Linked DNA regions of Homo sapiens: all the other regions are linked to region 4. Evidence: promoter capture Hi-C in 16 types of primary human blood cells and fetal thymus (Javierre and others, 2016). All regions are on one chromosome and are shown on one strand. Each heading gives the region's core, a stretch centred on a gene start or on the middle of the fragment in contact. The rest is flanking DNA. Distances are from core to core; before and after follow the strand shown. Region 1 has its middle 46 kb from the start of ST18. Region 2 has its middle 51 kb from the start of ALKAL1. Region 3 overlaps TGS1 (trimethylguanosine synthase 1). Region 4 holds the start of ATP6V1H (ATPase H+ transporting V1 subunit H). Region 5 overlaps PCMTD1 (protein-L-isoaspartate (D-aspartate) O-methyltransferase domain containing 1). Region 6 overlaps RB1CC1 (RB1 inducible coiled-coil 1). Region 7 overlaps RB1CC1 (RB1 inducible coiled-coil 1).

What was found. The method cuts DNA at HindIII sites, captures the fragments that hold promoters and counts their contacts. A CHiCAGO score of 5 or more calls a contact.
Region 1: a fragment that was not itself captured here is called in contact with the fragment with the promoter of ATP6V1H in region 4 in 1 of 17 cell types (M0 macrophages); the score reaches 8.1 in M0 macrophages.
Region 2: a contact is called between a fragment that was not itself captured here and the fragment with the promoter of ATP6V1H in region 4, in 4 of 17 cell types (naive CD4 T cells, naive B cells, total CD8 T cells and 1 more). The highest score is 6.9, in naive CD4 T cells.
Region 3: a fragment that was not itself captured here is called in contact with the fragment with the promoter of ATP6V1H in region 4 in 1 of 17 cell types (activated CD4 T cells); the score reaches 5.5 in activated CD4 T cells.
Region 5: a contact is called between a fragment that was not itself captured here and the fragment with the promoter of ATP6V1H in region 4, in 2 of 17 cell types (non-activated CD4 T cells and neutrophils). The highest score is 6.0, in non-activated CD4 T cells.
Region 6: a contact is called between a fragment that was not itself captured here and the fragment with the promoter of ATP6V1H in region 4, in 7 of 17 cell types (non-activated CD4 T cells, naive CD4 T cells, neutrophils and 4 more). The highest score is 9.5, in non-activated CD4 T cells.
Region 7: a fragment that was not itself captured here is called in contact with the fragment with the promoter of ATP6V1H in region 4 in 8 of 17 cell types (naive CD4 T cells, total CD8 T cells, total CD4 T cells and 5 more); the score reaches 9.0 in naive CD4 T cells.

Annotation. Positions count from the first base shown.
Region 1 is chr8:52,454,639-52,457,865 of GRCh38, forward strand. No RefSeq gene overlaps it. Among named protein-coding and RNA genes, the nearest start is that of ST18, 46 kb to the left of the region's middle. The HindIII fragment of the contact is 6,246 bases long and covers 1-3,227 here.
Region 2 is chr8:52,614,693-52,618,252 of GRCh38, forward strand. No RefSeq gene overlaps it. Among named protein-coding and RNA genes, the nearest start is that of ALKAL1, 51 kb to the left of the region's middle. The HindIII fragment of the contact is 573 bases long and covers 1,760-2,332 here.
Region 3 is chr8:55,781,114-55,784,605 of GRCh38, forward strand. TGS1 (trimethylguanosine synthase 1) reads left to right here. Exons shown (of 13, transcript NM_024831.8): 2 at 1,635-1,699. Among named protein-coding and RNA genes, the nearest start is that of TGS1, 9.4 kb to the left of the region's middle. The HindIII fragment of the contact is 456 bases long and covers 1,537-1,992 here.
Region 4 is chr8:53,841,265-53,844,506 of GRCh38, forward strand. ATP6V1H (ATPase H+ transporting V1 subunit H) reads right to left here and starts at 1,981. Exons shown (of 14, transcript NM_015941.4): 1 at 1,770-1,981; 2 at 314-461. The coding sequence starts at 426. RefSeq lists an enhancer at 1,930-2,069 and a silencer at 2,140-2,289. The HindIII fragment of the contact is 7,596 bases long and covers 1-3,242 here.
Region 5 is chr8:51,892,796-51,896,240 of GRCh38, forward strand. The region is part of intron 1 of PCMTD1 (protein-L-isoaspartate (D-aspartate) O-methyltransferase domain containing 1); the gene reads right to left. Among named protein-coding and RNA genes, the nearest start is that of PCMTD1, 4.5 kb to the right of the region's middle. The HindIII fragment of the contact is 1,484 bases long and covers 727-2,210 here.
Region 6 is chr8:52,633,888-52,637,325 of GRCh38, forward strand. It overlaps RB1CC1 (RB1 inducible coiled-coil 1), which reads right to left. Exons shown (of 24, transcript NM_014781.5): 19 at 2,128-2,182; 20 at 1,034-1,081. Among named protein-coding and RNA genes, the nearest start is that of ALKAL1, 70 kb to the left of the region's middle. The HindIII fragment of the contact is 6,087 bases long and covers 1-3,438 here.
Region 7 is chr8:52,658,859-52,662,114 of GRCh38, forward strand. It overlaps RB1CC1 (RB1 inducible coiled-coil 1), which reads right to left. Exons shown (of 24, transcript NM_014781.5): 9 at 2,677-2,861; 10 at 2,237-2,423; 11 at 2,068-2,149; 12 at 1,738-1,799; 13 at 15-118. Among named protein-coding and RNA genes, the nearest start is that of RB1CC1, 54 kb to the right of the region's middle. The HindIII fragment of the contact is 430 bases long and covers 1,580-2,009 here.

The DNA of each region.
Region 1 (3,227 bases), core at 123-2,622, 1.4 Mb before region 4:
TAAAAAGAAGAGAAAAGTAAATCCAGTGTAAGTAGGAAAAAAGAAATAATGAAAATAAGTGCAGATTAATGAAATAATTATAAAGATAGAAAAAATAAAAAAATTAACAAAGTCATAATATGTTTTTATGAAAAGACCCACAAAATTGATACACCAGATTGATCAAGAGAAAGGACACAAACTATCAACATCAATAATGAAAAAGAGGTTATCAATACAGATCCTACAGACATTAAAAGATAATAAATGATATTACCAAAAACAACTTTATACCACCAAATATGAAAACTTTGATGAAATACGACCTTTCCTTGAAAAATACGTCCTTCAAAAATTGAGGCAATGAAACAGAAAATATGAGCCACCCTACAGCTATTTTAGAAAATGAATTTGTTATCAAAACCCTTTCTATAAGAACTCCAGGTTCAGATGGTTTCACTGGTAAATTCTAAACCAATCTTATATAAACTTTATTTCTGAAAATAGAGAAGAGGAGATACTTTCCAACTCATTAGATAAGGTCATTCCAAAGTCTGGCAAAGATTACAAAAGAAAAAAAGAAATTGCAGACCAATACCTTTTATGAAAATGGATGCAAATATACTTAACAAAATTAGCAAATTAGACCTGGCAATTATTACTAAATAGGGCTAACCCCAGTATTGCAAGGCTGGTTTAATATTTGAGAATCAATGTAATCCATCCCATTAATAGAATAAAAATTGAAACTACATGATCATTTTAATAGACAGAAAGGCATTTAACAAAAAAAAAAATCATTTTTTAATTTTAGAAAACACCCAGAAAACCAGGAATAGAAGAAAACTTTCTCAGTCTAATAAAGGGCATCTAAGAAAAGCCTACAGCTGATACTATATTTAATGGTAAAATAATAACCACTTTCTTCCTTACAAGACCAAGGGAAGAATACCCAGTCTTTTTACTTCTATTCAACATATGGAGGTTCTAGCCATTTTAAAGGGCCAAGAAAAAGAAATAGGTAAAAAGATTGACAGAAAGAAGTAAAATTGTTTTTATCTGCACAAAATATAATTATCAGTACAAAAAATTCTAACAATTACTGAACTAATAAGTTATATTAAAGTTGCAGGATTAAAGGTTGAGATAGATACCAACCATCTTTCTTTAATTGATATTTGTATGTATAATGTCTTTTATATACTAACATAAAACAATTGAAAACTAAAAATTTTTAAATCCAATTACAATACCACTGAAAAGTATGAAATATCAATGAACAGATTTAACAGAAAATGGAAACAAGATCTCTAGATTTAAAACTACAGAACATTGTTGAGAAAAATTAATGACCTAAAGAAACGAAGAGATATTCCATGTTCACAGATTGTAAAACTCAATATTGTTGTGACATCAGTTCCTCCCCAAAATTATCTATAGATTCAAAAGAATCATATTTGTAATCCCAACAGTGTTTTTAAGTAGATTTTGATAAACTGATTGTAAAGTTTTTACAGAAAGGATAGAGGACCAAGACAGCCTCAAGTGATCTTGAAAAAGAATATCCAATTTGGAGGATGTACAGCTATCTGACTTCAGGAATTACTGCCAAGTTCCAATCTCAGGATAGTGTCAATCTTAAGGATCAACAAACAAATCAAAGGAAAAGAATGGAGAGCCTGGCAATAGACACATATATTTAAAGACTATCTGATTTTTGAAAAACTCACAAAAGTAATCCATTGGAGAAAAGATATAGCCTTTTTGACAAATGGAACTGGAGTAGCTAGATGTCTTTATGAGGAAAACAAATGGCATTCAGTACCTCACACCATACATGAAAATTGATTCAAGATGGACCATAGACCTAAATGTAAAGGTTAAGGCCATAAGAAAATACATAATAGCTTTCATATTTGGGAGTACGTATGCAAAGTTTTCTGAAGTTATAGAAACAAATAATCATGGAAGAAAAATATTAATGAATTAGACTTCATCAAAATTAAAACCTTACCCTCATGAAAAGATACCACTAAGAACATGAATGACATTCACAGACGTAAAGAACATATTCAAAAAACCTTTATCTGACAAATTGCTTGCATCTGACCTATATGAAGAATTGTTACTACCAAAGACTAAGACAAATATTTCAATTATGGAAATGGGCAAATTTAAAACAGATACTTCAGAAAAGTTGTAGAAGTGACCAGTAAGTTCATGAAAAAGTGCCTAAAATCATCAGTGGTCGGCAAAATCCAAAGTAAAACCACATAAGATAGCACTACATGGTCACAAGGATTGCTAAAATTAAAAAGATCAATAACACCAAATACTGGTGAAGACAAGGAGCAACTGGACTTCTTATATATTGATGATGGGAGTGTTAACTAGAATTACCACCTTGCAAAATGGACTGACAGTTACTGATAAAACTAAACATACACCTATTCTATGATCCAACAATTTCACCCTTAGGTATATATCCAAAAGAAATGAAAACAAGCATGCTAAAAGCAGTTTTATTCATAATAACCCAAATCTGGAAATACCCCACATCTCAATGAATAAACAAATGGTGGCAAATTCATGCAATAGAATGCTATGCAGTTTTTTTTATAAAAGACAGCTGACGCATACACCAATTTGCATGAATCTCAAAAACAATGCTGAGTGAAAAAAAGCCTATGCAAAAGAATACAATGTGTTTGATTCCATTCATATGAATTTCTAGAACAGCAAGCCTAATCTATGGTAGAAAAGAATCACCACAGTGATTACCTCTGAGTGTTAAAGACGGGGATTAACTGGGAAGAAGTAGGAGAAACTTCCTCTGGTAAAAACAGTGTTTACTTTAGACAAATCGAGGTGTACATTTTCCCAAATTCAACTAGTGTGCACTTAAGATTTGTAAATGTATCTGTAAATTATACATTAAAATTATATAAATATTATTACATAACATGGTGTATATTATAATATAGTTTGGATATTTATTCCCACAAACCTCATGTTGAAATTTGGTCCCCACTGTTAGAGGTGGGGCCTAATGGGAGGTATTGGGTCATGGGGGCAGATTTCTGAGTATATGAATCCCCTTCCTTGAGGTGGGAGGGTGAGAAAGTTATCACTCTATTTGTTCCTGAGAGAGCTCGTTGGTAAAAGGAGCCTGGCAGTTCCCCTCCCTCTCACTTCCTCTCCCTTCATGTGATCTCTGCACAGCTCCATTCACCTTCTGCCATGAGTAG
Region 2 (3,560 bases), core at 796-3,295, 1.2 Mb before region 4:
CATTAGGTCCCCTGACTACTAATTCTTGTTCCCATTTCCAGCTTTCCAGTCAACGTTTTGATAATTCTGCTTTCCAACAAAAAGAATCCATTTATTAGTATATTTTTCTTGGCAACTACATTTTACCGATTATACCAGTATCATACCCCACATGACATGCCCTGCACGTATACAACATGGAAAAACTAGTAGTAAATTATAAAATTTTTCAATTTCACAAAAGTTTGAAGATATTTAGAAAACACGCAGTACTGGCATACTTATAAAAGGAAAGAGATTTATCTTTCAAGCAAAAAGATGACTATACATGCACACACATGTGCTCTAAATGTGGAGAAACATCTTGACATTCCAGTTATAGTCACAAGCCTCTACTCACCTTCCAATCCTCTGAACTAGGGACTGTTGCTAGTTCATGATGTGAGATTTCAACTACCTCAACTGAGCATACTCTTTATTAATAACAGTAAATGGCTGTTTAATAAAATTAACATTCAATTGTTTGAAAAGCCTCTCTGATGTCTTAGGAGTGCACAATTGCTCATGGTCATCGCTAGTTAACGTGGAGGTCATTTGGGAAATAACAGGTTTCAGAGTTAGGCAGTGACCTGTCATACTCCCGCTTCACATGGGAGTACCAAGACCAGAGAGGTGAGAGAATTCTCTTAAGGAGTAGCATTTTTAAATGCTCTTACTTATGAAGTTATTTAATAAAATACTATTATTTGTAAGGCACTTCAAAATATTTTAAATATGCACAATTGCCTTTAGTTCTAATTGTTAATAGGAAGAGCCCTCTAGTAAGATTTCCAGAGTGTGAAATGGCCATTGTCAGCATTTAAGGAGTAAGGAGCCCACTCATGCTTCCCTGTATTCTTTGATGCTATAGGCTGAACTGGGGGAATATTAATAAAAAATGCATTACTTTTAGAAAGGATCTAATTAAGCATATGGTGGCATGAAAACAGAAAGGAAAAGGCACAGATTTTTACTGGACAATGGATAGCCTATTTTAAAGGTGACATGTTGACAACTCCAGGAGTCGTGCTTCTCAATCAGGTAGAATGTAGAGATAAACTTTTAAGAAATGACTAGGCCAGAAATTGCTGAAAGAATACAGTTATAGTGTATGCTTGTGAAGATAAGCTTCGTACTTTTGGAGAAGTTTAAGAACTCATTCTTTAAGAAACTAGGCAATTCATGTTAGAAGCCTGGGCTGGTTAAGGAGCCCACTGGTAGAATTCCAGAGAGATTACAGTTGACACCTAATTAACTCCTCACTAATACTATGACTATTAGAGGAATTAATTGATGGTACTTCCAGAGCAGTCTAAGAAAAGGGTATTACACCACTGATTTGGAACTAGATTGTCAAAAGCATCTTTGCTATTAGGTCCCACAAAACTGGAAGAGTTCATTCCAAAGCAAAACATAACATTTGTAAAAATAGCTCTTGAGAGCCTAGTGTTGCAAATTCTTAAATTGTCAACATTTAAAACTTTAGTGATGGTTTAGTACAGTTAGAGGGATTCTTGTCTCTAGAAGGCCAAAGGGTGACATGGTTAAAATGGTTCACTAGCACGGTATTTCAATGGGGCATAGATACTGGGTAAAGAGGCAGTCCTATGTGTATTCTTACAGGACATGTACATTATATTACTGCTTTGATTAGAAGAGTACATGGAGGACTAATCTTGCATTTTGTTATCTCGAGGCTTGCTACTTGTTTCTACTAACATTAGAATTGGTATTGCTATTAAGCTTCATTTTAAGGTGGGAATGAAACAAGCAGGTGGAGCTCTAACTGGTTTCCAAGTCTGAGACACCTAAGAAATATGTAAACCCAAATAGCTTACAGCTGACTGTTCAGTCTCATTACCACTATGTTAAGAATTGTTTGAAATAACTTCCATCTTACCCATAAAAATTATAAACTATACAAAGCATTTTTTTAAAATGGCCAAAGACAGCTTACGTCCTAAGAGTATGACTAACGTTAAGAGCTATCAATTAGTGGACATTAATAAAGAGTTTTCACAGCTTTCCAGTTTTTACTTCAAAGTAAAATGGATAAATCTATGAAAATGAGATTTTAAAGTAAACATTACCAAATTTGGTGCCTTTAGGCATCATTAAATCATATGCTTAAAAAAAAACAAACTCCAAGTATACCGATAAATTTTTATCTAAATCTTAAAGGGCAATAGCTATTTTAGACCTAACTTTAAAAAAAATGTGATTTTAAAAAGATCACAATTTCCTTGCAGCTACTCTTATACTTGGACTCTGGGCTGGCTCTGTGACTTACTTTGACCAAGTGACATGACTTCCAAGCTTCTTTTGCTGTCACTCTTTTCGGAATGCTGCTGCCACTGTTTAAGAAACCCCAGGCATTTTGATAGAGACTCAAAAGGAACCAAGGCATCCCTAACTAATCTCCAGACATGATTGCAGTCACATGCGCAAATGGTTATTTTAAGCCAGCAAATGTAGGCATTAACAGTTACACAATATACACCTGATACAGAAATTAGCACCAACAGTGAGACTGCTGCCCTAACAAAAACTTAGAACGCATGGCACTGCCTCACAAAGGCTATAAGAATAGTGAAGAAAATTGTACTAGCAGAGGCTGGAAAAGTAAAGAAACTGCTACTGAAAGCTGGAAAGATAGGAACTTGTGTCTTGTGGTGGCAAAACAAATGGCAAAACTATGAAGTTGTGACTCTGGCTAAGGTTAGTTTCCAGGAAATGTTCAAAGCATCAATTGGCTTATTTTGGTTCTGTATAGTAAGGCATGGGAAGAGAGAGATGAAACAGAGAAGAAACTGTTCTGCTGGGTTGGATCCAGTCTCTGCAGCAAGCTGAAAATTCTCAAAGACAGACAGTTTCAGGGTAAGGAATCAAGCCTGTGGCTGTTAGGCCCTTTGCTATGACTTCAGGTTTAAGTCATAAGCCTAATAGACCTTCTTATGTAGACAAGGGGTGCTCCTAGGAGTCTTGAGTGTTTTCCCATAGTACACTAGCCTTCCAGAGAGAAGTCTGTGTGAATTACGACTTAACTTTTAGAGAACTTCTGTCAGTTTTATAGGAAACCCAAAGTTTTTAAGGAAACTATACTTTGCTGAACACATATAAAGATATTTCAAAATGAAAAGGGCCTCAAGGCACCCAACTTTGAACAAACAGGAAATAACCAATCTATTGTATCAGTCAACTTCAGAGCATCTGAAGCAAATACCGCACTATTCATTTTCAGCAAATGTATCCCTTTAGTCCCTTTTTGTTCTTTTGGGCCCATGCATTAAAGTAATGACATTCAGTGATTCAACTATTTTAACCACTAGAAGAAATTAAGGTACACACTGAAATTTTTCCCCCTAATTGGAAAATCACCGTTAGAAGTCAGAAGTGATCAATTTGACTCCCAGATGAGATTATAATTCTGCAACAGTGGCCAAGTCACTAAAGTCTCTGAGCCTGTTTTATCTTTAAAATGATTAGGCCAGTAGTAATGTCACAGAAAATAGCAGATTAGGACCCTCAGATAATTGGTCCCT
Region 3 (3,492 bases), core at 515-3,014, 1.9 Mb after region 4:
AGTTGAGCAGTGTTATATATGTGTGTTTTACACGCATACATGAATGTGTCTGTGTATATATACACACATATGTAACACTTTTAAAAACTATTTTTATGTCTGCTGTGTATATAAACTTAAATGCCATGAGTTTATAACAGTACTTCTAATGTTGGCCCAACACCTGAGGGTTCTTTCTAGCCTTCCTTCCTATCAGATAATGTCTTGAGCCCACCTTGCTTTTAAATAACCTTCTTCATTTCTATTTAAAAAAAAACCAAAAATTTTTTATTTAAAAACATTAAAATAAATTTTAAAATAATAAAGTAAATAAGTAACCTTCAACAAGGGGAATCTTGGCTAACATTATCTTCAACACATTTACATATTTGCTCATTATAACCAACTTGCAACCAACCATACTGGTCCTCTCCTCCACCTGACACTTCAGTGCCTCATATCTTTAGGTGCTGGCGGGCAGACCAGTGATGCCCCCTGTGCAGCTCCTGCTTCCCACCCCCAGTGCCCATGTTCCTGGGGACCAGTTGCTGCCAAAGCACATTTGCACGTCACCCCCTTGCCTGTTCATCATCCTGCTGAGTCACCACCTACTTTACATTTAATATAGTATCTCCAAAAAAGAAGCAAGAGGATGTGAAATAGAGCAAGTACACTAGAATTTTATTTAGTTAAATTTATTGTAGCTCCATTAGAAAAGTTATGTTAGCTTCCACTTGCAATTGGCCTTCTTGTGGCAGTTACAGTGGAGTTTATTACAGCTGAATTTATAGTCAGGAAGATATTAAAAGCAGAGTCTTCCACTTTTTCTTAAGTATTCTGTTAGGTTTATTTTGGTAACCTTTGCTCAGACCATGAATACCTTGTCTACTGTTCACAATGGATAGTTTGTCTTATTAGCAAATGGATTAGTGTCTGCATATTGATTTATATGTATGTAAGCTAAATCTCTCCACTGTTATTCACAACAAAATTTAGAGAACACCCCATTGTTTATGTATCATAAGGAATATCAGATGTCCAGAAGAACTTACACTTTATTTATTTATTTATTTATTTATTTATTTATTTATTTATTTATTTATTTTGAGATAGATTTTTGCTCTTGTCGCCCAGGCTAGAGTGCAGTGGTGTGATCTCAGCTCACTGCAACCTCTGTCTCCCGGATTTAAGCAATTCTCCTGCCTCAGCCTCCCTAGTAGCTGGGATTGTAGGCGCCTGCCACCACGCCCAGCTAATTTGTGTTTTCGATAGAGATGGGGTTTCATCATGTTGGCCAGGCTGGTCTCAAACTCCTGACCTCAGGTGATCTGCCCACTTCAGCCTCCCAAAGTGCTGGGATTACAGGTGGGAGCCACTGTGCCCAGCCTTAATTTTAGTAACTAGCAGTTATAGTAATAAATGCTACCATGTATTAAGCATTGTGCTAAATATTTTACATATACTATCAGTCCTTACAACAACTCCATGACAAATGTATTATTGCCTCTACATTATAAGTGAGGGAAATGTATTAGCAGATTGCTTTTCTGTTTCATAAGCTTTTTATTAATTAATCTATGATGGCTCGAGATTTCTTTCCCTCTAAACTGATGGCTTAATTCATTTCAATATGAACTGCTTAATCTGCTTCGCAGGGATCGAAAATTGTACAATTTGGGATTAAAAGGCTATTACATCAGAGACAGTGGCAACAATTCAGGTAATATAGTATAAAATTCTATAAACCTTTTTTGCTGAAATTAGCCATAATGTGTTAATTTATGTATAATTTGTTATAATATTGTATTGATTTGTTAGCATAAAATATAAATGCCAAATAATTCTGTAATCAGACAATTTTTATTTTCTTTTATAACATGGTTCTGGAATCTCTATGAAAGCAGATCTTTTATTTTTCTATAGCTCCTGTGCTGACTTAATGTAGCCTCTTTTGCTGTGTGTAGTGTTCCTTCCTGAGTTGCCACCATTAGATAAGAGCAACCTGGAATTTAAAGCTTTGAAAAGTAGGGAATATGTGGTTTCTGGCTGGACGTGGTAGCTCATGCCTATAATCCCAGCATTTTGGGAGGCCAAGGCAAGCAGATCACTTGAGGTCAGGAGTACGAGACCAGCCTGGCCAACATGGTAAAACCCCATCTCTAATAAAAATACAAAAATTATCCAGGTATGGTGGTGGGCACCTATAATCCCAGCTACTCAGGAGGCTGAGGCAAGAAAATCCCTTGAACCCAGGAGGCAGAGTTTGCAGTGAGCTGAGATTGTGCCACTGCACTCCAGCCTGGGCAACAGAGTGAGACTCCATCTCCAATTTAGAATATGTAAATTCTAATCATAATACACTTCATGAGAAGTGTATTATGTAGGTAAATGCTGCAGGATAAAAAAATGCTACGGGATAAAAATTCCAGGTGAACATCTATAGTCTTTTGCCTGAAGTAAAGAGACTGTCATCTTGGTTAACTTTCCCAAGTAACAAATATAATTTATACTGTACATTGAGCCTCACTTTGATGTCTCAAACTTCCCTACTGCATTTGTCCTTCCACATAGACCTTTTGTGTTCCTAGACACAGAGAAAATTACAGCGTGGAGTTAGAAGCCAAAGTCAGCCCAAGTACAGTGTCATAGTTACCTTCGGAAACCCTTTAACTCTCATGGCGATGGAACAAATTACTGTTTCTTCAGTTGATCACTGGATGGAATGTTTGGTTTGTGTTTCAGTGCTATGCTATACAAATAAAGTTCCTATAACACTAGGCTCCTCGAGCATAAGAAAATATGCATACAATGAAAGGAACATAAAACTTAGCTTACTCATTTTCTCCATTTTGCTGTCTCCTGAGCTTTCGTAAGTATATTTGAATGGAGTAGTGAGTGGAATCCCCTTCATTATTTAGAAAGGTATCTTTCTCCCTCTTGTAGCAGAATTTGCACACAAGAGATTTCTCTTTATCAGTCTTCATTTTGGCTATATAAGATTTACTGTTCTGTTGCCTGAGACCATCAAGCTGGAGTGCAGCCCAATGCTAATTGAGTGTGCTAATACATAAAATGATTTTTTGTTATCTCACATTTTAAAGTTAATAGAGCACTTGAATGGCATATGTTCAATTAATGGTATAATTACTATTAGATAACCATATTGGTGTAAAGTAAAACTTACTTTGTTGTAATAAATGGTTTTTCTATAAGAATTAGATTCAGAGAGCTTGAAAAAAATCTTCCAGTTTAGGGGATTTCAAACCTTTCTCTTTTTGAGAGAGAGAGAGGGTCTTGCTCTGTTGTCTGAGTGGTGATCGCTTAAGCATTCCTCTCACCTCAGCCTCCCAAGTAGCAGGAACTACAGGCACCACCACACCAGGGTAGTTTGTTTTTTGGTTTTTGGTTTTGTTTGTAGTGACAGGGTCTTGCTGTGTTGCTCGGGCTTATCTCAAACTCCTGGCCTCAAGCAGCCTCTCAAAATGCTGGGATTAGAGCCATAAGCCACTGTGC
Region 4 (3,242 bases), core at 731-3,230:
CCCTCATCCCCTTCCTCCCTCCGTTAGCCCAAGGACATTCCTCCTATGTTTCCCACTTATTCCAAAAGTACTTCCCCAGGCAGCCAGAGAAGGTCAAAAGCACCATAAGCCGCTCTGCTTCCCCACTAGGGCGCCAAGCTGTTTCCACCCCACTACACTTAACTCCCTAAGACAGCTAATTATTCTGAAGAGGAAGTGTTTCTTCCACATTTTTCAGTATTTTCCCTGTATTTCTCTCATAGAAGCATGACCATGAAAAAGTCTGATGCAAAAGCATATGACTGTCCATGATTCACAGCAAATTGGTACTTACTGAAGATAGGATTGCCAGTTGACTTTGTTTGCACGAACTTCTGCAGCCTTGGCAGCAATAATATTGGTGGGGACAGCAGCATCCACAGCACCTCGGATATCCATTTTGGTCATCTAAACTTCGTAATCTTGAATGTCTTTCAACAAATCTTCAATTTTGATGCAAGGTAAAAACAGAATACGAGGTGTTTCTTTTTTTTACAACTATTAATATTATGATTATGAATATCGTGATCACTTTAATCTCCCCAGGCATTCAACTCAAATATTAAATGTCCTAAGTCTGAAAGTATCATTATATTTCAAATATTGTCCACTGCTCCATAAAAGAGTTCTTTAGGCTTTTGCTTTTCTAGAAAAATTTTTTTCATTATTGGCACTAACACTGCAGTAAGATTTTTAAAGCAATCACCTAATATACTGAAATCAGAAATCATGATTAAATAGAATAGGTATAAATATGGGAAAAATTGTAAATTTATACAATTGTGGTTAACTTTTCTCATAGAGAAACAATAAGAATATGAATAGTACGGATAAGGCTAGTTTTATAAACATTTACTAAGCATCATTTTGAAGTGGCACATTAAAAATTCTAAGTCCTTTCGAAAATTACTCAAATTAAAATACACAAAGTGGGAACATAATTTCTTAGAAGACAGTGCTTTCCTTTTCAAACAAAATTCATAGTATTTGCAAAATCAAAATTCGGAGAGAAAGTTTTAGAACAAATACATATTACAATTTAGGTAAGCCAACAATGGCGGTCTGGCTGGACGACAAGAACCTACAATAATGAAATTCTATGTAATTCTCACTCCTAAACTTCCAGATACAAACGACTGATTTTAACACAAAGCAAAATACAGGTTGCCACTTGCAAAACATAAATTCACGGCCATGGCCACAAAGAAGTTAAAATCCTACCCAAAATTATATTCCGGGTTTCCAACGATCTTAATCAATTTGGAACTTAATCTCTGTATCTGAAGATTTGCTGTATAAACAACCCTGGGCAGCGCGAACGACAGGGCCCAGGAAAAAACAGGCTTCAACTGGGCCAGGCTGGAACTCTGCAGCCAAGGAGGCTCAGCCTCAGCGGCCCGTCCTGGCGTAGCTCAAGGTGTCTCTAGACAATTACCTAAGTCCCTGAACTACTCGCACCCCCAGCGATCCAGGGCCGTGGCCCAGTCCTGGAGAAGGTATACTTTTTACCCCTCCCCCTCCACTCTCCTGCCCGCCCCTGACGTTTCTTCCCCCTGCGAGAAAGGCTCCAGAATTTCGCTTAATAAACCTGGTTGAGGCCTGGAAGAAAAGCAATCTGGCAACCGGGGGCCGAAGAACAGGAGAGGACCAAGCGGCGAGACACCAGCACGCACCAGGCAAGCTGGAGAAACTGCAAGAGTCGCCTGACCTGGTCTGCAGCCTGAGACCAAACAACGCGAGGGCGGCCTTACCTCGCGAATCCTCGGGACCCCACAACGCACCCAAAGCCGGCAGGGAGGGTGGTCCGGGGCGCCGGGGACACAGCCGGGCTGGGGCGCCGCGTCAGAGCCAAGTAGGCGTCTCCTGTCAGGTCCAGAGGTCTGAGCAGTGGAGGGAGACTCCGGGAGCCGAAAGTGAAGCGGGTCCCGCACCAAGGAGACGTTGAGGGCCGCACAGGTAGAAGGAAGCCAGGGCGGCCGCAGTAGAATGACAGAGGCGCCGGTCACGTGATCGGAGGCACGTGACTGCTGCGGAAGGCGGAAGCCGGGAGACTCCAAAGCAGCAAGAGGAGGGGCGGGCGCTGCGGCGGGGCTTGTTCGGTGCGGACAACTGGATTCCCGAGTCCGTAACTTGGGCCCCGGAGCGACGCAAGGGTCGGGCCCCAGCCAGCCAGGGCAGGTGGGAGGCGGCGAGCGTGGCGGGCACGCTAAGACCCGCCGCCCCCAGACCTAGTGCCTCGCCTAGGGGAGGCCGAGGACCTCCGCCCGGAAGCAGCTAGCAGAGGCCAAAACGCTCTTATTGTAACCGTCATTCTTTTGAAAAGTTTGATTTCGCGCTTTCAAATTAATTTCCATTTGGATTTAACAGCTCCATGAAGCAGGCGTTCTTATTCTGATTTTAAATAGAAAACTCGGGCTGAGAAGTGGGTCTGAAAAGCTCTCTTAACCTAGGGTTGCACATTTAGCAAATAATAAATTCCATTGCAGTATTTACTTTTATACTAAAAAGTTATTCGTTGTTTATCTAAAATTCACATTTACAGGACGTCTGGTATTTTATCCAACAGTCCCATCTGGAGCCCAAATTTTCCCCTAGTCCAGGCCTCAGCAACTGTCTTTGCCTTAAAGTAAGAATGTACTGCCCTGGAGGTGAAGTATATATGATAGCATGTTTTCCTTAAAAAGCAATGAAAGGGGCCGGGCGCGGTGGCTCACTCCTGTAATCCCAGCACTTTGGGAGGCCGAGGCCAGTGGATCACCTGAGGTCTGGAGTTCGAGACCAGCTGACCAACATGGTGAAACCCCATCTCTACTAAAAATACAAAAAATTAGCTGGGTGTGGTGGCGCATGCCTGTAATCCCAGCTGCTTGGGAGGCTGAGGTAGGAAAATCACTTGAACCCAGGAGGCAGAGGTTGCAGTGAGCCAAGACCGCACCATTGTACTCCAGCCTGGGCAGAAAAAGCAAAACTCCGTCTCAAAAAGAAAAAAAAAAAATTCTTTGAAAGGGATTTATAACCAACCCATTTTTACTCGTAAAATTAAAGTCAGAATAATCAAAATCATGCATTGATTATGAATAAAGATATATAATAACAGTGTCAAAGATTGTACTAGGTCACTCATTCTGTCTTAGCCAGAAGTGAAAGTCTGTTGTTTTGAAAGCAAATCTAAGGGGAAAAACTTTCATAAAAGAGAAAAAGAAACCGATCGTGTACTAAGAAAC
Region 5 (3,445 bases), core at 219-2,718, 1.9 Mb before region 4:
CATCTTTATGTAAGTGGAAAGAAAATTTATTTATATTTCATTGTACATACAAATAAAAAAATAGTTTCCATTATATCATTCCAGAGGTAAGTGACTACTTCCCATCCCAGGGGGGAAAATGGGAGGCTGAGGAAGATACATTTTCAGTTTATATATTTTTTGTATCACTTAAAATTTGCAACATGTGATATATTAACTATTTTTAAAGTCAGTGAATTATTTTAAGCTCACTTACAATTTGTATCTTCAAAGAAGTATTTATGATTACTTTAATATTTTATAAAGCTAAGGGCAGGTAGACTACAAATGGATTAGTTTGAGAATCAGTCTCATTCCTTTATAAGCATGCATTTTAACATTCCAAAAAGAAAACGTCTCTTCCCATCACCAAGATATCCTACATTCAAAATTCTTAACAGAATTATATTTTTACTTTATAAAGCAAGAATTAATTACTTATTAGTTAGATAAACTATAAACAATACAGGGCACAATGGCAGATATAAGAAAAAACTGTAACTTCTGCATGATAACCATTAACATCGATAGATTATTTTTAAAAAGTCTGAAATTTCATATGAACTCTTCAGCAATGTAAGAATTATGTATAATCTGTGTGAGGGCATTTCAGCTGATTGTACAGCTGGAGCTTCCTGATATCACCAAAAGGAAGAAAACAATACTAAAGTATAGACAGAGTTGTACTCCATCTTTCACATCTATGCAAGCTTAAAGAAACTGTAAGATCAGAGAGTTTATGAGAATATTGCAGCTCATTAGAAAACTTGTCTGACTCAACAGCATGGAAAATAATTCAAATACTAAATCATTAATTTTTTTAAAAATTTATATACAGTACCAAGAAAGGATATGTGCACATGGAAAGACAAAACTGATTTGTCTTAAATAAACAATATAATTACCTTATAATCTGAAAACAATTCATGATAGCCTACAACAAGAAATTTAGTTCTGTTGTGGACACACACAATTAAAAACTCAAACAAGCTAGTGTGTGTGACAGAGAGAGAGAAACTAAAATCAAATATACTGCTTAAATACCAATGAAAGGGGTAGTTTACCAGTGATCATTTTCATACTTATTTACCCATACTTCCTGAGCACCCACTGGAAGACACAAGGAACAGTAAGACATAGTTTGTGCTTCAAGCATCTTATATAATCCAATTACAACTGTTAGAGTACTCAAAACAAATTTAGAGTACAAAGTATCATCACAGGTTAAACAGCTGTATGAATGTGCAGGAGATTTTACTACTGTACTACACAGACTGGGAGGTGGGGGCTCTAGGGAAATACGGTGTACGCTGTATAAACTAGACTTTTACATGGAAGACTTCTAAAGGCAGAGATGGGAGAAAGAAAAAAATTCCAAGAAATGGAAATGCATAAGAAATCAAAAAAGTAAAGTAAAACTGAAGTTTACATTCTTTTTGGAACAGCTGCTGGGACAGAAAGAATGTAACTTAATATTTTAAACTAAAACAAGAAATAAGTTTTGAAAGGGGCACTGAAGTCAAATAATGCAGTTTTGAAAGGCAACACTGAGGAACTCGGGCTTTCTTCCAGAGTGGATCAGGAGCCACTCAGCAGAGGCACAGTGGTCAAGAACACAGACTTGGAAGAAGACATGGTTGGGATTCAAATCCCAGAGCTCTTCTACCTACTAACAACTCCTTCAAGATCATGAAGTTCCAATTTCTTCACCTGTAGAATGGGGATAATATAAATTATAATGACCACATGAGAACAAAGGATTCAGCACACTGACTGACATAAACACCCAAGTGGGTTTGTTTTGTTTGCTTGTCATCAGGCAGGGAACATGATCAGGACTACATTTAGGACAATTAATAAGCAGTATTCACAATGAATGACAAACCTAGAGATTAATGTCTCTTGCTGTGTATATGGCTGCTGGAAGAACTGAAGAAAGATAGAAGAAATCAGGAACCACAATGCAGTAAGATGACAAAAAAAAAAAAAATTCTAAGAAAAGGAGAGAGAGAAGAACCAAGGATGACCTTTTGATTTTGAGTCTAGATGACTAAGAAAATGCAAAGGTCATTAATATAAACAAGCAAGAAGAATCAGGCTTGCAAAAAAAGTTTAATTCTGAATCTACTGATTCAAGATTACAAAATGACAGCTACTAAGTTGATCAGGGAGAACAACATTGGCAAATCTGAAGCTTGGGAATGAAAATAAGGCTGATGATACACAAGTGGAAGCCTGAGCAAAGAGGGTGAGGGGAATGAGCAGTTGAAACCACGGATCTGTGTGGGATTGCCAAAGAAGAGAACAAACTCTAAAAAGGAAAAGAACTAAACCTAAGGTAACACCTACAGGCAACATCTATCTATACTTCAGGAAGTGAGAGAGAAAAACAAACAAAGGCCCCAAGAAGGGAGAGTTGGAGATGCCAGTTTGTGAAAGTCACCAAGACAGACCTTCACAGCATTTCACATTCTACAGCTCTTTCAATGCTCATTATAACTTTAGATTATAAACTGAACTGACTTCATCAATTGATAACATGATTATCATTAAAGGTTTTTAAGAGCCTGCAAGTTACTGAAGAGTGCTCAGTAGAAAACACAGAAGAGTGTTTTATGCAAATTAGTTTTTAAACTCCAAGAATATTTTAAGCTCTAGAAATCATACCTGATGCATGTCTTGTATCAAGACATAAAGTTGAGTTATTTCTGGCTACCCGTGCATAATGTTCCAAAAAGGATTTTCAGGTTAAACTGGAAAATATGCTATGTCTTCCCATCAGCAATACCTCTCATTAATTTTTGAGAATACACATACACATAGTGTTTGATTCACAATCCTTCCCCACTTCAACAGCTGAAAAAATCTTACCATATTCTAAAAACGTCTTTAGGGGGCTGAAATATTTCTGTGTCACCTAATTATAAAACCCACTCACATCCAACATCCAATGTTACGTTGACCGAGAGATAATCAATGGCAGATACGCCATTTAGGTATGAATCCAATTATCATCCTTAACAATTGCCAGTAAAATGTCAAAGCTTTTCCTGTATTTTTGGTTTCTTCTCAAATACAGATTACAACTGACCATACTTTATTAATGTTAGTATTTGTCCCATTTCTTTTTTTTTTTTTTTTTTTTTTTTTGAGACAGAGTCTCACTCTTTTGACCAGGCTGGAGTGAAGTGGAGCGATCTTGGCTCACTGCAACCTCTGACTCGCAGGTTCAAGCGACTCTCCTGCCTCAGCCTCCCGAGTAGCTGGGATTACAGATGCCCACCACCAAGCTCGGCTAATTTTTGTATTTTTAGTAGAGACGGGGTTTTGCCATGTTGGCCAGGCTGGACTCGAACTCCTGACCTCAGGCGATCCACCTGCCTCAGCCTCCCAAAGTGCTAGGATTACAGGCGTGAGCCACTGCCCC
Region 6 (3,438 bases), core at 436-2,935, 1.2 Mb before region 4:
AGACCAGCCTGGACAAGATGGTGAAACCCCATCTCTACGAAAACAAAAAAACAAAACCTAAAACCAAAACAAAACAAAAATTAGCTGGGTGCAGCGGCACTCGCCTGTACTCCCAGCTACTTGCTGAGCTGAGACAGGAGGATTGCTTGAGCCAAAGAGGTTGAAGCTGCAGTGAGCCAAGATCGCAACACCACACTTCAGCCTGGGCAACAGAGAGAGACCTTGTCTCGATTTTTTTTTTTTAATTAAAAACGAAACAAAACAAATCAATAAAAACCAGGGCAATTTACAGTACCACATGGGATCTCTTGCCTTTCAGGCACTTTCACTTAAAAATAAGATTCATGAAAAGGGCTGGGTGCAATGTTTCACACCTGTAACTCCCAGCACTTTGGGAGTCCAAGGTGCGCAGATCACCTGAGGCCAGGGGTTTGAGACCAGCCTGTCCAAAATGGAGAAATCCTGTCTCTATTAATTATGTAAAAATTAGCCGGGTGTGACGGCGCAGCACACTTGTAATCCCAGCTACTCGGGAGGCTAATGCACAAGAATCACTTGAACCCGGGAGGTGGAGGTTGCAGTGAGTCGAGATCACACCACTCCAGCCTAAGCTACAGAGCAAGACTGTCTTAAAAAAAAAAAATCATGAAAAGATACAATGTATTAAAATTACGCACACTTGTGAGTAAATATATTAATCTTCAAAAGACTTATGAAACATAACTCAAAACTGATTTTGATGATTTTAAGAATCTTAGGTGCTTCAACTGGTCAGACCTACAGCCGTAAATTCGCCAAGACATTATTTAATTTCACGCTAAGGAAAAAGTCTGACTCTACAGTCAGGAGATAACTCTGGCCTGACTTCAGCATTCTGAAAATCAATAGGATTCAATGACCAACACGGACCAACAAACCTACTATAGATAAGTCAATCAAAGCATACATCCTCTGATGGAATATCTTCATAATGAAATATAATGCAAATCATTTAAAAATGTTAAGACCAATTTACCAAGAAGAAAAATCTTACCAGTCTTTGATTTAACCGTTTATTTTCTTCTTCTTTCAATTGCAATGTCTGCAGGTGGAAAAAAGAGACCTGTGGTTTATCCTTGTACCTACTCAAATAAATCTAAACAGTGATTGTCAAAGTTTTCATCAGACAAAAATGTTTGGTTCGGGTATGAAAAGTTGATGGGGATATTATTTTCTATGAATTCTTTCCAAATGTTTTCATTATCTACTAGCTTAAATGAGAACCAGAGCAATTTTAGATACATTTACCAAGGACTGTCAAACATTAATATGCGTTAGAAACACCTGTGGAATATATAAATATGTAGTAAAAATCTGAGATCTATCCCCAGAGACTTTGTTAACTAAGTCGTGCCTAAGAGAATACATCTGGCATCTGTAACATACATCTCAGGTTATGCTGAGGTAGGAAATCACATAACCCTTTCATAATAGAAAACATGCTATATTCAAATGAAGTTGTACAATTCTGAATTTGGATTTTTATCAGACAATTACACTTGTAAAGAAAAAAAGGCATTGTTGAAAATCTTATAGGCCTAAAGAATGAAAAGTAATCTATGAACAATGATCTGCCAAATGTGTACCAATTTGATCTTATAGTACCCTTAATAAAGGAAACCCTTTATTATCAGTTTTTTCTTGTCCATTTCAATTCTTTATTTAAAACATAACTCCCTTCATTACTTATTTTTGTTTTTGCCAATTTCTAAAAAGTATTTAATACTTTGTTTTTGAAATAGATGTTTAAAATTGCCATTCATGTTATTTTGCTGAATTCTCAACTATTAGGTAAAACTATTACTTTACACATTGATTTAATAAAAACTACCAACTTTTTCCTCTCATACAGACTTCATTCATTGGGAAATTACAACAAATGGGAGGGCTGAAATACTGTCAACTGTTTAGCTAGTAAGATCATAAAATGACAAGACTTCCCAAAACAGTGACCACAAAAATAAGTTAATCATAAAAAGGCTTAATTTATAAACACAAATAGTCTATTGTATGTTTCCAGAATGAAGTTTAACTGTATCCAAAAGTGAACATATTAAACATGGTACTTCAAGAAGATAATTTACTTACTCGTTCTAACAGCATTATCCGCTGTTTTTCTTCAGACAACATATGAATATTTTCTCTAAAAGTGAGAATAATTGAGTTTCAGTTTGAAATTCTAAACTTTACATTCTTCAAGATTTTAGAAATTAAAATATTAATACAGATCACTTTAACAATTTAAGGGTTTTCATAAATTTTCAAAAGTAGCTTATTTCAGTTAGCATGTAATTTCAATGTTGTATATTCTCTGTAGCAGACCTAGATCTATAAACCTTTTGAAATAATAAGTAAAACTCTGTGTATGCATTTATCTAGAGATGTCTTTAAATTTCTTATTTTTCCCAGGCATTAAGAACCACTCTTCTTAATATTTGTGAGTGAATCCATGATAAAGTCGTAGTTCTTGAGTGGCTAAAGACTTCAGTAGATTTACTAAGTGGATGCTATGTACTCACTAGTTACTATGCCAGGTGTGAATTTGCCCAATACACTAAAACATCCAAAAACAAATTAGAAAATTTTAAAAAATGCTATAAAATTAGAAAAGAGAAAAACAATTATTATTTAGGTTTTAAAATTCATCTACAGGTATAATCCCCAAATTATATTTCAAGTAACTTGATGCAAGGCAGGTATTCTGTCTTCTTCAACATGCTACTTCTTTAGGAAGACGCTTTGCCTAATATAAGGTCATAAAGATTGACTTCTGTAAGAGTTTTATAATTTTAGCTTTTACACTTAAGTCTATGATCTATTTAAGTCAACCTGCGCATATGGTGAGGAAAGGGTCCAACTTCATCCTTTTGCATCAGAATATCCAGCTATGCTATCCCTGCACCATTTGCTGAAAAAGCTATTTCCTTCACGGAACCGTCTCAGCACCTTTAACCAAAATGCAAGGGTTCAACCGACCATGAATACGAGGGCTAATTTTGGACTCTCAATTCTATTCCACTGATACAGTCAGGCTAGCACTACAGTGTCTTATTACCCTTGCTTACAAATTTTAAGATTAGTCAAACAGTGTGAGACTTTGTTATTTTTCAAGATTGCTTTGGCTATTTTGGGACTCTTGCAATTCCATATGAATTTTAGGATCAGCCTGCCCTTTTCTGCAACATAACACAGTTCAGATTACGATAAGAATTGTGTTGAACTGGCAGACCAATTTGGGGAGGGCTACCATCTTAAGGCGATTAAGTCTTCCAGTCAGTAAACACAGGATGCCCTACTGTCTTAACTTTTTTCCATGTTTTGTAATTTGTACAAGTATTGAACTTCTTTTGTTAAATCTATTCCTAAGTATTTTTACCTTTTTGATGCCATCAGAAAAGA
Region 7 (3,256 bases), core at 545-3,044, 1.2 Mb before region 4:
CTAATGACATTTACCTGAGGAATGGCTGAACTTCCGAAGGACAAAATGATTGCAGAAACTGTAAATCTTTTAATGAAATATCTGGAAGTTCACAGTCAAACTTTCGAGGCTTTTGAGTCTGTACCAAAAAAATTAATTACTTAAAAAATTTTTTTTCAACCAAAAACAGACAGCAAATTTATATGATTTCTTACTATAATTAAATTTACTATACCAAACAAACTAAAGTGCTTTAAATGATTAAGAAACAAAAAAAGACCATTCAATAAAGATATGGCATATTATTTTCCTGAGCCTTTAGTAAACTGCGACGTGAACTGCTAGTGATCAAGGGATGCACTTGTTCCTCCCCTTCTCTGCTTTTAGCATCATTTTATGGGAATTACAATATTCCTATCCTGTATGTGTATGTATGTACATATACATATGGTAAACACATATGTAAGTGTGTGCGTATATATATAATATTTACCATGTTAAAGCCACTAATATATTAAAATGCACACATGTATTTTTTTTCCATGTAACACTTTCTTATTTGCTTTTGCCTTGACTTTTCCATTACATTTTCCAGAAGACAAAGTTTTGGTCAATTTTAGCTTCTGTAAAAAATATTAACCGGTAAATCCTACCAATTCATTATTTATAAAATTGCCAAGAGTTGCATTAAAAAAAAACTTGTTTTAAATCATTACTCAAGCAGATGTGGAGATGCCAAGATGCTCTTCATAAAAAAGAGTTCTCGGATAAATAAGTATGGGAATCGCTATGTCACCAATTCTTATGTATTAAAAAATGCATACATTTAAAACACTAAGAAATCCTGCAGTATAGAAACATGTTTAACAGCTAAGCATGGCTGGGCGTGGTGGCTCACGCCTGTAACCTGAACAATTTGGGAGGCCAAGGTGGGCAGAACACTTGGGGCCAGGAGTTTGAGACCAGCTGGCCAACACGGTGAAACCCCGTCTCTACTAAAATACAAAAACTTAGCTGGATGTGGTGGCAGGCACCTCTAGTCCCAGCTACTTGGGAGGCTGAGGCACAAGAACAGCTTGAACCCAGGAGGCTGAGGTTGCAGTGAGATGAGATTGTGCCACTGCACTCCAGCCTGGACAACAGAGCAAGACTCTTGTCTCCAAAACAACAACAACACAGCTAAGAGTACATCTGATGGGGGTAAAAGCCCCCATATTGCTTTGATCATGGAAACGTTTCTTCTCATGTAATACAATTAATGACCCCAGATAACAATGGTTTAGAAACATATCAAACTAACGTTTAATTCCAGTGAAGTCTAACTGAGGCTTTATTATTCTGATTTGTCAAAATATAAAGGGGGGTGGTGTGAAAAGAAATATAGAAGGGCAAGGAGGAGGTGGAGGCTGTAAAGGAGGAGGGAGGGAGAAGAGCAGTGGAAGAAAGAAGAGGGAAGGGTGGAAAGAAAAAAAGGAAGAGACAAGAAAACAAAAAAACCAAGTGAATCTATTTCTACCAATCCTAACAGTGCAGTATAAGGTATCTTCCTGTGTTATGAAGATTCTTTATAAAAAATTATGAATACAAATATCAATCTTAAAGCTTTATGCTAACTGGCTTTTAAAGCCAAAAACACTTTTATTTTGATTTTTTTTAAACCACAACAATTTCTGCAAGTTTCTGATAAATGTCTCTACTTCTGGAAAAAAGGTTTTAAAACATATGGAATTTAGTCATGGTTAGAAAATAAATACATACACAAAAGGAAGGGGGCCAGGAGTCCAGTCCCCTAAACAGACGATTTCTTAAAAAAGACTTCCCTGTATAAAGAAATTAACAATATGGTTATTTTAGAGCTTTATTTAAGGCAAAAAATTATCTCTGGTTTTTGAAAAGGTAAATTAAAAGTTGACAGTACTTCAAGTTTAAAATTTAACAATGGATTCAATTCTATACACTTTAAAAGGAATATTTCCTAGATATCAATGGCAATTAACAGCATATACATGAAGTATGCTACAGAAAATCCAAGCTTATAAAAACTTTTATCCTTTACAAAAGTAATTAAAATTATTAATGAACACTTACTAAATAATTTCCCAAAGGATTCCCTTTTTGATTTTTCTGCTTCATATAATCTCTTTCCATCTTTGACTAAAGCACCAGCCCACTAGAAGAGGAAAGCTTATGTTAAACATAAACATACACCAATTCGTTAAAGTTCATATACAGTTAAAATAGAATTCAACTTGCATACCTCCCTGTAGTGTTTTATGAACATTTTTCTTCTTACAACCTCAACAACAGCTAAGCAGTACATCTGAGGAACTGTACTAAGAGCTTCAACAATTTTGACTCTTTCTAACAGCTCTATTACGAGGCGGAGCAAAGCTTGTAACTTCTCTCCATCTTGATCAGCATGAAGCATTACAAAGCAACACCACCTAGAGAATAAAATCCATTATTTTCAACATTCACAAAACTGGTACTAACTTAGTTACTTACTTAGTAAGCTTACTAACTTAGTTAAGCCAAAGAAATCAAGATATATAAGCTCTACAAAAATAGTCTAATTCCAAAGTTCATCAATAAGGTATTTCAATAAAATGGTAGGGAAAAATCACTCCATCATTTGGGAGAAATAAATATAAATACCAATTCTAAACATCTTAAAACAGATATAAATGAATCACTTACTTCAGTCTGACATGTAGGTTATTTGCTAGTTCTTGTTTGGCAGTGGTACACTTCTGCTTAATATCTAACAGTTTTCTATGATTTTGCAACATAATCATCAACTGATTTGCGTGACTCAGGCATAAATCAGGTAATACAGATGCATCCTTTAAGTTTTCAGCTCTCTTCTGATTAGCTAAAAATCCCTTTGAGAAAAAAAATGTTTCAAAGGACATTAATTTTGTTTCATGAAAGGTATGGACATTCAGTTAAGTGGAAAATCTTTATGTTAAACACAACCCGTTTTGTGCCTTCTAACAATATTTTTAAATCCTCTATTTTTCTCGAATGTAGTAGATGCATAAATGGCACAAGACCTAGAATTTTTAAGAATCCTATGCTCATCTTTAATTTTTCAAACTAGAAGAAAATAAAGGCTAGAAAGATAAAGCCCCTTAGCCAAGGACATACTTAATAGTCAATGAGAATTAGAAGCTATGTGTCTAGAATCCTATAACACTATCGGTCAGTCACAGCACAAACAAAACAAGGTCACTGAAAAACAATAAGGGATTTAATCTAGCAAACATTATACAGTAGT